Regions from separate parts of the Homo sapiens genome. Here all the other regions are linked to region 1. The links are contacts of gene promoters, found by promoter capture Hi-C in human tissues and cell types (Jung and others, 2019). All regions are on one chromosome and are shown on one strand. The core of a region is centred on a gene start or on the middle of the fragment in contact, and the rest is flanking DNA. Distances in the headings are between cores, read along the strand shown.

Region 1 (4,338 bases), core at 1,315-3,814:
CAGCCATGGCTGGGCACCACTGACCCTATAGGGTAAATGGATTGATCAAGGGCACACAGACTTGTAAATTTGCTAGACATTGCCAACTGGCCTCTACGGCGGCTCCATGGGGGTTGTGTCAATTCACACTCCCACCAGCAATGTACAAGAGGACCTGGGTCTTCCACAGCCTCCCCAGCAAAGTAGGCTTGTCAAAGTTTTTTATTTTTACCAAACTGCTAGTTTATTTATTTATTTTTTAAAGGTATCTCAATTTTGCTTTAATTTGCATTTCTCTTACTAGGAGTTGAGGTTGAGCATCTTTTTGCATGTTTAAGATCATTTAATCTGTCTGGTCATATTCTGTGCCCATTGTTCTTTTCATTTTCTTTTTTTTAAGTTTGACTTCTCTATATTTTAGCAAGACTAATTCTTTACTTGAGTTGCAAACACTTTTTACTGCTTTGTCTTTTTATGTTTACACTTTGCATGAGGTGGTATGGTATGTTTTTTTTTTTTTTTCCTGGATCACTTTTTATGTGTTTGAATGTATTCATCTTTTCAATGGCTTTTGGATTTGGATTTGGGTAACATGGTTTATGGTTAGAAGGAAGCTCCCCATATTTTCTTCTGGCACTTTTGTGATTTCCTTTTTTTGAGACAGAGTCTCGCTTTATCGCTCAAGCTCGAGTGCAATGGTGCGATCTCAGCTCACTGCAACCTCTGCCCCCCGCCCCGGGTTCAAGCGATTCTCCTGCCTCAGCCTCCCAAGTAGCTGGGATTACAGTCGTCTGCCACCACGCCTGGCTAATTTTTGTATTTTTAGTAGAGATGGGCTTTCCCCCTGTTATCCAGGCTGGTCTCGAACTCCTGAGCTTATGAGATCCTCCCACTTCAGCCTCCCAAAATGCTGGGATTACAGGAGTGATCCACTGCGACTGGTCTGATTTCCTTTATTTGTGTTTAAATTTTTGATCCTTTTGGAATTTTCCCTGATCAAAGGATCCACCTTTGTTCTTCTTTCTAATGGCCAATTGTCCCATTACCCTTGTCAAGGAGTAAGGTAGGAATGGCTTTGTGGGGTATGAAATGTGAATTTCTTTTTGTCTTATTTATAACAGCATCTGCCTCTACTCTTCTGAAACTGTGTTCCTGTCCACCCACCCATTCAACTACCCATTGATTGACTGATTGATTGATTCATTCAATTTCTCGTTTTTGTTTTTTTGCTTGTTGAGAATTCTAACATTAATTGGACATTGTCCCTGACCTTTTGGGTTTCTATTTAGGATTTGTTTTTATCACTTAATAACCAACAATGATGACATTTTATCGAATGTCTAGTATATTTGTTCCAAGTATCATTTCAATTACACTTAAAACAAAGCAGTGATGTCAGTTATACTATTTTTCCCATTTGAGGAGTCATTTAAAAGAGGTTTTGAGGCTTTCCAATGGCCCCCAGTTGGAAAGTGGCAGTACTGGATGCAATTCAAGAGCCCAGTCTTCAGGATCCTGCCTTTTTACCTACCTGGACGCTGTAACTGGTCTCTGTGGAATGGCTGGATGAGGGAATGAATGAATGAGTCAGTGAAGGAATGAGGAAGACAGAATGAGTCAGCTCGTGCTTTCAGAGGAGCCCAAAGGGAGAGGTTAAGATAGGAATGCAAATGACCAGAATCCAGAGTAAACGCGAGCCCACCAGCGTTTTGGAAGCAGTCCACTTTCTACCCCCTCCTATTTAAAATGCTTCATTCTTTCCAGTTCCTCCCCACCTAGAATCCATGGAACCAAACGCTGGGGTAGGGACAGTGGCCAGCCTGTCTCCTTGGGTTTGACGCATTACATCATCCACGTGGAGGTCCCCTGTGGAGCTCTGCAGCCCTGCAGCCTCAGGGGCAGGGGGGTGGGGAGAATGAGGAAGGGGGAGAGGGGGAATAGGAGGAGGGAGTAGGGGACAGGGAGGGAGGAGATGCCAGGAGGGTAAGTGGAGAAGAGGGAGGCGAAGCCGGGGGCAGCAGGGGAGGGGGTCAAGGAGGAGGAAAGAGGAGAGCTTGGGGAGAAGGAAATAGGGAGGATGGAGAAGTTTTGGGCTGGGATAGGCAAGAAGAGGGAGGAGGAGAGAGGAAGAAGAATAAAGGGGGAAGGGAGAAAGAGGGGGAGGGAAGGGAGGGGGAAGAGGTCAGGGAAGTGGGGGAAGCAAGCAGTGGGGGAAGAAGAGGAAGGAGGAGGGAGAGGAGGAAGGCGGGGTGGGAAAGGGGGTTGGGGTAGTGGGAGTTTCCAGGGAGGGGTCGGGAGGGGAGGAGGGGAAGTGAGAAGGAGAAGGAGAGAGAAGAGGGATGTTGGGGGAGAAGAGAGCGGGAGGGAGGAGGGAGAGTGAGAGGGAGGAGGCAAAGCCCCTACTCCAGCCCCCACCGCGGAGTTGCGCAAGCCTTCCGGTCTGGGATTGGCCGCCAGAGAATCAAGACGCTCCGCCCCCGCAGCCCGACGGCCAATGAAGAGGCGGGCCGCCGCCTGGGCGGCCAATGGGCGCGGGGGGGCGGGGCGGGCCACGGCCTGGGGTCCCCGCGCGCTCTCCGTCCGCAGTGGAAGCCGCCGCCGCGCTCGCAGCTTGCAGGCGCCGCGTAGCCGTCGCCACCGCCGCCAGCCCGTGCGCCCTCGGCGCGTACCCGCCGCGCTCCCATCCCCGCCGCCGGCCAGGGGCGCGCTCGGCCGCCCCGGACAGTGTCCCGCTGCGGCTCCGCGGCGATGGCCACCAAGATCGACAAAGAGGCTTGCCGGGCGGCGTACAACCTGGTGCGCGACGACGGCTCGGCCGTCATCTGGTAGGAACTTTTCATTCGTCTCCACGCCCCGCTCCCCGGGCTCGCGCGGGGCCTCGTGCACCGAGCCGGCCTCCAGGCGGGACGGATTCGGGCCTCCCGCGCTGTCTTCCTCGCCTTATTCCGGGACGGCGTGCCAGGCCCCCGCGGGCTTCTCCGTGGCCAGCGCGTCTGTTAGATTGTCCTCTGCAAGCGCCGCGTCGCGCGGCCACCAGCGCTGATGTGTGTGTGTGTTTTTTTCTTCTCCCAACCCAAAGGGTGACTTTTAAATATGACGGCTCCACCATCGTCCCCGGCGAGCAGGGAGCGGAGTACCAGCACTTCATCCAGCAGTGCACAGGTAGGGAGGCGCGCCTGCCGGGCGGATGCGCGGTCGTTGGGAGGTTGTCTGCACCCGGGGAGCCCCGGCCAGAGCGAACCCGGGAGGAACCGGTGGCCACATGGGGTGCCCCTGGCGCATGGCGTGGGAGGAACCCGGTGTGAGCGTTTTAAGGCCTCATAAAACCTTCTCCCCTCTGGACATCCGAAGCAACAGAAGTGACCCACCTGCCTCCGCCATCCTACAATGCCTTCTCCAGGCGGGGCAGCTCTTTTGCCCCCTGCGGTCCACTGGTTTTCTAAGGTCAACTCCTGTGTTTCCAAACTCCAGTGTCCATCCAGCTCTTCCCACTGTCCCCTTTGATCAGTCACTGAGCCCAAATACGAACAGGCTAGGGGGCTGCTTGGAAGGGAAAGAAACTCAGCCGCGCCCTCCTTTCTCCCGCTATCATTGTCTGCCCGTGTGCTGATTTTATGTGATTTTTAATTTGACGAGTAGAATCAGATGCAAAAGAGTACACACCATATGATTCCATTTAGAAATCCTAGACAAGGCGAAACTAATCTATGGTGTGAATGTCAGAATCGAGATTAGCTTTTGGGGCTAGATAGCCACTGATGGGGAGGGGCACACCACCCGGACTGCTGGGAGCTGAAAATGTCTCTGTAGACATTTGTTGATCTGGGAGGGGGTTATGCAGGTGTGTACCCGCGTGAAAAATCATCAGACTGTATACTTAAGATTTGTGTGCCTTAGGCACTTCCCTGTGGCTTGTGAACCATGAAAAGAAAGACCACGTGGCAGGCATCGCCATAAACCCTTCGGTAGTGGCAGAGGCTCTGTGATGTTGGTAATGGGACCTTTTAAAGAGATTGGAGAATGCGACTCCCTCCCATCTCTGGTCTTTAGTTGGAAGCAAGCTTTCGGACAACGGCAGCACAGCCCGGAGGTTACGGCGTGGACCCTGAGCCAGACGGTGTGGGTTACTTATTTATTTATTTATTTATTTATTTATTTTTGAGACAGAATCTTCCTCTTTTGCCCAGGCTGGAGTGCAGTGGTACAATCTCAGCTAACTGCAACCTCCGTCTCCCGGGTTCAAGAGATTCTCCTGCCTCAGCCTCCTGAGTAGCTGGGATTACAGGCGCCCACGACCACGCCTGGCTAATTTTTTGTAATTTTAGTAGAGATGGGGTTTTCACCATTTTGGCCAGGCTG
Region 2 (4,338 bases), core at 842-3,341, 360 kb after region 1:
TATCTCTTTTAAAACTTATTAATGAAACCACTAAAAATAATCCCTAACCCTGACTGCTTATTTTATGCCAAAAATTATGCAAAGTATTTACATACATAATTTTATTTAATCCTTAAAACAGCCCTTTGAGGTAAAAACTAGTGATCTATCATTATCCCCATTTTAGAGATGAGGAAACTGAGTTTTACAAAATCTAAGTAACTTGCCCAAGGTTAGAAAGCTGGAAATTGAAGGAATGGAGATTTAAACCCAAGGAGTCTGACTTCAGAGCCTACACGCTTAATTTCCATGTGATAGTTGGGCTTCATATAAAAAAGAAAAATACATATATGCAAAAGCAAAATAGAAATTACCTCTAAATCTTCCATTCAGAGATAACCACTTAGCACCTTGATCTATATTCTTCCACTTGATTTTTCCTTTGCTTTCTTCACTTACCAAATGTAGCATGAACATTCCCTATGCCAACAGGCATATTTTCTGCTGTGTTTTGAGCTCTCTGGAAACACAAATACATTACTGGAAGCTCCACCCCTAAGACTGGAAGAACCAAGAGAAAGAAGATATCACGAATGGATAAAATCTCCAGGGACTCTGGTGGGAACTGGGAACAAAGGTGCAATTTGGAGGGCTGCTCTTTCCTTGGCTTCTGGCAAAGTCTTGTGGTTTATGATGAGATGTGGGTTATTAGGAGCCATCAGAAAGGACCAAAGAGGATGGAAATTGTAGAAGCAGCAGCAGCAACTTTAACATGACCACAGGTTCTTTGACATTCCTCCCACTGAGAAGTGGAGCCTGGGTCCCCTCCCTTTGAGAGTGGGCAGGCTTCTGACTGCTTAGACACAGCAGACATGACACTATGTGACTTTTCAGGCTGGGTCACAAAAAGCCATGCAGCTCCTACCTTACTCACAAGGCACTGACCTGTCATTTCAGAAGTCTCACTACCCATGGAGGCTGCCATGCTGAAGTGGCCGCAGAGAGGTGCTCTGAGCAACCGTCCCAGCTGAGCCCAGCCTTCCAGCCATCCCTGCCAATGTGTCAGACACAGGACTAAAAAGAACACCTTAGAAGGGGATCCTCCAGCCACCGCCTCATATACTAGAGTCACCCTCAGCTCTGGGGCTTCTGGCTGAGACCCTAGACATCATGAAGTAGAAAAGCCTTTCTTGTTGTGCCTTGCCCAAAGTCCTGACCCACAGAAGCCAGGATTCTCTCTTTTTTAAAAATTGGTAATAAATAATCATTATTTTATGCCAGTGTTTTCAAGATGGCTTATTGCACAGCAAAAGATCACTGTGACAGAATTTGGCACCTGGAAGTGGGGACTGACCTATACAAACTTGGAGCAGGGCTCAGAGGTTGCTGTGCTTGCATCTGAGGCACCACCATGTGCCATGAGACCAAAAATCTCTCAAAGATCCCAATGATCCCAGTCTCCACCTTCCCTTCCTGGGCCTCCAGGAGATGTGTTCTACTAGGAAAGGGCATCAAAATATAATTTTCAAAACATTTTTTTAAATGGGGCCCAGCATGATCACTCACACCTGTAATCCCAGCACTTTGGGAGGCCGAGGCAAGTGGATTGCTTCAGTCCAGGAGTTTGAGACTGGCCTGGGCAACATGGTGAAACCCTGTCTCTACTAAAACAAACAAACAAACAAACAAACAAACCAAAAAAAAACAACAAACTTGTCCCATGAATATAGAATGAATGAGTATGTGTCAAAAATCCCTCATTCTCATAAGTGAAAGGACCAAGAACACTAAAGCTGGTGACCATCCTGAGTATTCACAGGCATGGGAGAAGAATGCTGGGACAGGGATTCTGGGTGAGACACAAAACTGGAGAACATTCTTCAGGGCAATAAAACCATGACCTTGGAGGTTTCTTCACTAACAGACAGCAATCAGACTCATTTCTACCAGACAAAAATTTGCAAGTTAACATGTTAACGTCAGACTCCGGGGGCCCTACTCAACAGTACAAAAAGAGTCAAACAAAGCCACAGTTCCCCCAGAGAATTAAATATAAATAACTCCCGAGCTGGCCTGTTCACAGAAGCTACAGTGTGACATTGAAAGGATGCACACACAGCCGTCTGCTTTGCTCCCAAGTTTTAGATCCTTTTTCCTCAGGAGAGTCCTGGTAGCAGAAACTCTTCCTTGCCCAGGCACATCAGACACAAGGGACCCCAACACCCCTCCGCCAACACTCCTCCAATTCCAACATCCTGAACGTAGATGCCAATCTCTGCCTATGATCTCCTGTCTCTCCACCTCGCCCCTGTCTTCCTGGAGACCTCAGGCTCCCACCCCTCCTGGCTTTCCAAGACCCCCAGACCTCCCTTGACCCCACTAGGCACCCCTAGCCCCCAAGATCCAGGACCGTCAAGCTTCCCAAAGACCTACCAAAAGATGGATGATTCTGAAAACATGCAAAGTTTCCAAATCATGAGGAAAAATAACCTGTTATTAATATAGATTTTGATATTTAATATATCCATTTGTTCATTAGTCAATTTTGTACCCAAAATATTTCATTACATTGAAAAGCCACATGTCAGCTTCCTTGTCACATTGGAAGTGACCTCTCTAAAGCAGGTACAACGTCTGCTGAGGAGTCAGTGCCAATCATCCATTAAACAAGGTCCTCATAGCCAAAAGATTTGCAAAGCAAAACAATAAATATGTACCCACATCTTTGCAGAGCAAACCAGTTTCTGGATGTGAAAAGCGGGTGCACATAAGAAGGTTGATAGGCTGTGAGATGAGGCCTTCAGGAGTAAGACCGCCTGAAATGGGCCAGCTGCTCCCCATCACTGTGCCCTACTCCCAAGACTCCTATTCTCATCTCCTGCCATTTGGCCTTCTTGTCCCATCATTGTCACCCCTGAGTAGACTCCACTCCTGTGAACAAGGCCGGTGCAAAACACCCTGCACCATGCCAAAGACTCCACTACAACCCCAGTGTTGCGCATGATGGACAAAGTGCCTTTTCCATCAACTTCTCAAAGGTGCTGAGCAGTTCTGCAAGAAGGGAACCTGCTTGGCCCTCCTTCCCCCAAACTTACTGGAACAACACTCTTTTCCTTGGACCGCTGGTGTCACTCATACTCAGAAATGGCTCAGCAGATGGCAAGTCATTGAGAACAGACGCACAGCACAAAAGTTTCGCAGGAGGGCACCAGGGAGTGGGGGAGAGTAGAAAGATGAAGTGGGTGCGGAGGAAGAAACTAACACCCCCCCCCGCCCCCGACACACACACACACACACACACACACACACACACACACACACTGTTCTGCAGGAAATAATTAGCAACTGACAAGGAATAGTTGAAGGCAGTCTACCGCTCTCAACGCTGCCCCAGTGGGGTCTTCGTGTGCTGGGCTACACAGACTCACCCAGGCTGTTCTTTGGAAACCCTGGGAAACTTTAAAAGGGTCCCTACCCATCACAGTCCAGGACACGCCTGGGACCAGCCCATTTCCATATCCAACAAGACCCAGATCCTGGTTCCTTCCCTGCCTGTCAGCCAGGACCCGGCCTTCTGTGGGAAGTCCTCTTCCCGGGTTTCCCTCCAGGCCTCCCATCTCACAGGACTGAGAGGAAATTCATTGCTTTCCCCACAGTTTTGCCTTCTGGATTGCCCCTCAATTGCCTGCATCTCCCTCTTCCCTCTCCACTGGATCCTGACTCCCCTCACCTCCTGGCCTCCACCCTGTCCCCCCACCTCTCACCCTACCTTCCTTTTCATTCATTCACTCCCAAACTTCCAGCTTCCTGGGCTCCCCTCCCCTCCACACTGCAACTTCCCTCTGTTGCCATAGAAACCGCCCTGAAAGGTGACAACTGACCTTCCAATTACCCAGAGGCCTGTGCCGGCTGTGCCTCCCCGTCCATTCTTAGATGACCCCCATTCTGCACAGACCCCCCTTCTCACTGCACCTCTCTGAAGGTGAGTTCTGATCCGGGGACAAAGGTGCTGGGGAAACGCGCCTTTGAACTCCAGCGCTGTGCAATTCTGTGTGCTCCGGACTCCAAATCCCCACGTCTCCAGTGATGCCCTGAACCCAGCATGCGCAAGGCCAACATCCTCTGCCCCAACTTCTCCTCCCCCACGGCTTTCTATGTGAGTGGCTGCCCCCTTCATCCACTCTGCCACACAGACTGGAAATCTTGGGGCCACAGCAGCCTCCTCTGGCCCTTCATTCCCTGCAGCCACCCAGTCCCAAGCCCTGTCAACATTTATTCTTCCTGAAACACCCCTGCATTCCTTCCACCGCCTCCTTTGTTCAGGTTCTTATCTCACTCACACACTCTTTTTGTGGTCTC
Region 3 (4,338 bases), core at 971-3,470, 260 kb before region 1:
TGTCATTCTATTTCTAATTCTACAATGGAGCTAAGTCAGAAAGCGTGCTCTGTTTGAAGGGCAGCTTAGCATTACAGATGTATTATATGATCTGAACCCTGGGGAACATCTATAAAGTGGGGACGTCCCAGAGACCTGCGGCCTTTTCCACCTGAGAAGGTGCCTCAGCCGATTCAAATAAGAGGATGTTCCTGTGTTCCCTTCCCAAGAGGATCTACCAGGAACTTCAGCGACAGCTGTTCCCAGGACACCCTTTATTTTATGCTGGGAGGCATCGTCCTCCGTGGACCACTCATTTGGGGTTAGCTGCCTGTAGAACCGATTCCTGGGACAAACCCGTTGTCACGTATCCACAGAATGGAATGCTGCATGAGGATTTGAAAGAATAAACAAACACGCTCCACAACACGGCTGAGTCTCCAACACATGACGCAGAGTGAGAAGCCAGACACCCAAGACCACACCCTGCCACGGCGCCATAATTTTGCTGAAAAAGCAAAATCAGAGCAACAGAAAGAAGCTCCCTGGTGCAGGGGTGTGGCCGGGAGCTGGAGGGAGAGGGACTGGCCACCAGAGCAGTAATGACATTCGGTGCTGACAATGTCTACACTTTGACGGGTGGTGGTTGTGACCCTGTATACCTTGGCCAAAACACATTGTGTACTTTTTTCTTTTTTTGAGACGGAGTCTCGCTCTGTCACCCAGGCTGGAGTGCAGTGGTGCGATCTCGGCTCACTGCAAGCTCCACCTCCTGGGTTCACGCCATTCTCCCGCCTCAGACTCCCGAGTAGCTGGGAATACAGGCGCCCGCCACCACGCCCGGCTAATTTTTTTTTTTTTTTTTTTTGTATTTTTAGTAGAGACGGGGTTTCACCGTGTTAGCCAGGATGGTCTCGATCTCCTGACCTCGTGATCCGCCTGCCTCGGCCTCCCAAAGTGCTGGGATTACAGGCGTGAGCCACCGTGCCCGGCCACACATCGTTTACTTCTAATGGGTGGATCGTATCATTTACCTCAATAAAGCTGATTTTTAATTTGTATTTTATTTATTTTGGGACACAGTTTCACTCGTCACCCAGGCTGGAGGACAATGGCGTGATCTCAGCTCACTGCAACCTCCGCCTCCCAGGTTCAAGCAATTCTCCTGCCTCAGCTTCCCAAGTAGCTGGAATTACAGGCACCCACCGCCATGGCTGACTAATTTTTGTAATTTTAGTAGAAATGGGGTTTCACCATGTTGGCCAGGCTGGTCACGAACTCCTGGCCTCAAGTGATCCACCCGCCTCGGCCTCCCAAAGTGCTGGGATTACAGCTGTGAGCCACCTCACCCAGCCTAAAAAGCTACTTCTAACATCTTCCATAGAAAAGATGACAGATCAGGCCCGCCTTACCTTGGGCAGTGAGTTGCTGGCTTTTCAAACGGGCACAGCTGAGCAACGGTCGTGTAGCAGTCCAAATCCTGCACTGTGAACAGGAGCAAGGGGGAAAGGGTCAGGTCCCAGCACGCCTGGGCCTCAGGCTACCAGGCTGTGCAATGGGCCACTAGACTACCAGGGCCTATGGGTTCCCTGGGCCCTTGAATAGAGCTGGGACTACGACCCAGCAGGCTCCTCGTACCCCACGTAGGGGCACTTAAGAGATGAGACCAAACCCACGGCCTGCATGTGTTGGCGGGTTGAGGGCGTTGTCACCCCCAGTGGTTTCTCTGTGGGGCTGATGGTGCTTTTCATCTGAATGGTGACTTTCTTATTTGGAAGCTTTTCCTGACTTGATCACCTTTGCTCCTCACAGCAGGTGTTACTCTAAGTAGGCAGATGAGGAAATGGAAGCTCAGAGAGCTCAGAGTGCCCTTCCCAGGACTGAGGTGGGAGCCCAGCTTTCCAGTGCCTGCTCTAGAGCTCCTTCTGACATACCACCTACCTCCTGCCGCTAATCAAGGCACATTCATCCCTGCTGAGGGGCGAGGGGCTTTTATCTTCAAGGTCATTTTGTTGTGTTTAAACAACACAGGTAAGGAAACAGTTCTAATACTGGCCACCTGTGATCTCTGACAGCATGTCTTTATTTAGTTCAGGGCTAAGTAAACTTTTTCTTTTTCTTTTTTTCTTTGAGACAGAGTTTTGCTCTTTTTGCCCAGGCTGGAGTGAAACGGCACGATCTTGGCTCACTGCAACCTCCACCCCTGAGTTCAACTGATTCTCCTGCCTTAGCCTCCCGAGTAGCTGGGATTAGAGGCGCCTGCCACCACAGCCAGCTAATTTTTGTATTTTCAGTAGAGACAGGGTTTCACCATGTTGGCCAGGCTTGTCTCGAACTCCTGACCTCAGGTAATCCACCTGCCTCAGCCTCCCAAAGTGCTAAGATTACAGGTGGAAACCACTGCACCGGCCTTTTTTTTTTGAGACGGAGTCTCACTCTGTCGCCCAGGCTGGAGTGCCATGGCATGATCTTGGCTCACTGCAACCTTCACCTCCTGGGTTCAGGCAATTCTCCTGCCTCAACCTCCCAAGTAGCTGAGATTACAGGTGCCTGCCACCACACCTGGATAATTTTTGTATTTTTAGTAGAGACGGGGTTTCACCATGTTGGCCAGGCTGGTCTCAAACTCCTGACCTCAGGTGACCCATCTGCCTGGACGTCTCAAAGTGCTGGGATTATAGGCGTGAGCCACCGCGCCCGGCCAGGTAAACTTTTTCTTAAAGGACCATAGAGCAAACATGTTTGGCTTTGTGGTCCTTATGTTTGATGTCAAGATTAATCAACTCTGCTGTTGTAGCAGAGAGGAGCTATAGATGATGTGGAATAGGTGTAACTGTGTTCCAATAAAACTTTATTTACAAAAGCAGGCAATAGGCAGGATTTAACCCATGAGTCATCGTTTGCTGAACCCTGCTGGTCCAGTCTGTCACTTGAACAGGCCATGGTTCTATATAGCTATCCAACAAAGGGGACTGGTTTAGTACATCAAGGGACTTCTATTCAATGGGGAGATCATTCACATTAGGTTTGGAAGAACATTTAAAGCAAGGGTGTCCAGGCCGGGTGCAATGGCTCACGCATGTAATCCTAGCACTTGGGGAGGCCCAGGCGGGTGGATCACCTGAGGTCAGGAGTTCAAGACCAGCCTGGCCAACGTGGCGAAACCCCGTCTCTACTTAAAAAAAAAAAAAAAAAAAAATTAGCTGGACATGGTGGCGGGTGCCTGTAATCCCAGCTACTCAGGAGGCTAAGGCAGGAGAATCACTTGAACCCATGAGGAGGAGGTTGCAGTGAGCTGAAATTGCGCCACTGCACTCCAGGCTGGGCGACAGAGAGAGACTCCATCTCAAAAAATAACAAAATAAAAAATAAAATAAAAAAAGCAAGGGTGTCTAATCTTTTGGCTTCCCTAGGCCACACTGGAAAAAGAATTGTCTTGGGCTACAGATAAAATATACTAACACTAATGATAGCTGATGAGCTACAAAAAAAAAAAAAAAAAAAAAAAGTCCATGCATAAATCTCATGTTTCTCATGTTTACAAATTTGTGTTGGGCACATTCAGAGTCGTCCTGGGCTACATGCAGCCCATGGGCTGTGGGTTGGACAAGCTTGATTTAAAGGCACAGAAATATATTCCTGACACACACACACACACACACACATATGTATATATTTTTTTGAGACAGGGTCTTGCTCTGTCACCCAGGCTGGAGTGTAGTGGCATGAACATGACTCATTGCAGCCTCAAGTTTCCAGGCTCAAGCAACCCTCCCATCTCAGACTCCGAAGTAGCTGAGATACAGGTGTGTGCCACCCTGCCCAGCTAATTTTGTGTGTTTTTTGCAGAGACAGGGTCTTGCTGTGTTGCCAGGGCTGGTCTCAAACTCCTGGGCTCAAGCAATCCTCCCGCCTCAGTCTCCCAAAGTGCTGAGATTACAGGTGTCAGCTGCTGCATCAGCCAGACACATAATTATTTAAGAAAAAAATTAGGTTACCAAATTGTATGTAACTCCATTTCAAGTTTTAAAAGTCATCGATGTATATATTACCAATGTACATACTTTGAATATGTAGAGAAAACAAACTGGAATATTTGCCAAAGTGTTCACGATGGTTATCTCTGGCTGCTGGAATTTAGGTCATCACTACAAAAAAATGTTCCACTCCGTGTTTAAATTATCTGGAATAAACAGGCATTCTTTTTGCAATAAGAAAAAAAACTACTACATATTTTAATAAAGATATCTAACTAGAACTTTTGCATGAGGGCAAATGATAAGAGTTGCTGTCCCAAAACAAAGGCATGGTCTGCCGGCAGAGCTCCGGGGAGGAAGCTGGAATGGCTCCTACATCCTT

What was found. The method cuts DNA at HindIII sites, captures the fragments that hold promoters and counts their contacts. A contact is called where the count stands out against the background at its distance.
Region 2: a fragment that was not itself captured here is called in contact with the fragment with the promoter of COTL1 in region 1 in 2 of the 25 tissues and cell types used here (IMR-90 fibroblasts and aorta).
Region 3: a contact is called between a fragment that was not itself captured here and the fragment with the promoter of COTL1 in region 1, in 1 of the 25 tissues and cell types used here (thymus).

The regions. Positions count from the first base shown.
Region 1 is chr16:84,616,304-84,620,641 of GRCh38, reverse strand. COTL1 (coactosin like F-actin binding protein 1) reads left to right here and starts at 2,564. Exons shown (of 4, transcript NM_021149.5): 1 at 2,564-2,804; 2 at 3,059-3,141. The coding sequence starts at 2,728. RefSeq lists silencers at 2,306-2,665, 2,686-2,735. The HindIII fragment of the contact is 16,310 bases long and covers 1-4,338 here.
Region 2 is chr16:84,251,880-84,256,217 of GRCh38, reverse strand. No RefSeq gene overlaps it. Among named protein-coding and RNA genes, the nearest start is that of KCNG4, 14 kb to the right of the region's middle. The HindIII fragment of the contact is 8,191 bases long and covers 1-4,338 here.
Region 3 is chr16:84,874,564-84,878,901 of GRCh38, reverse strand. It overlaps CRISPLD2 (cysteine rich secretory protein LCCL domain containing 2), which reads right to left. Exons shown (of 15, transcript NM_031476.4): 12 at 1,392-1,464. Among named protein-coding and RNA genes, the nearest start is that of LINC02176, 51 kb to the left of the region's middle. The HindIII fragment of the contact is 5,719 bases long and covers 1-4,338 here.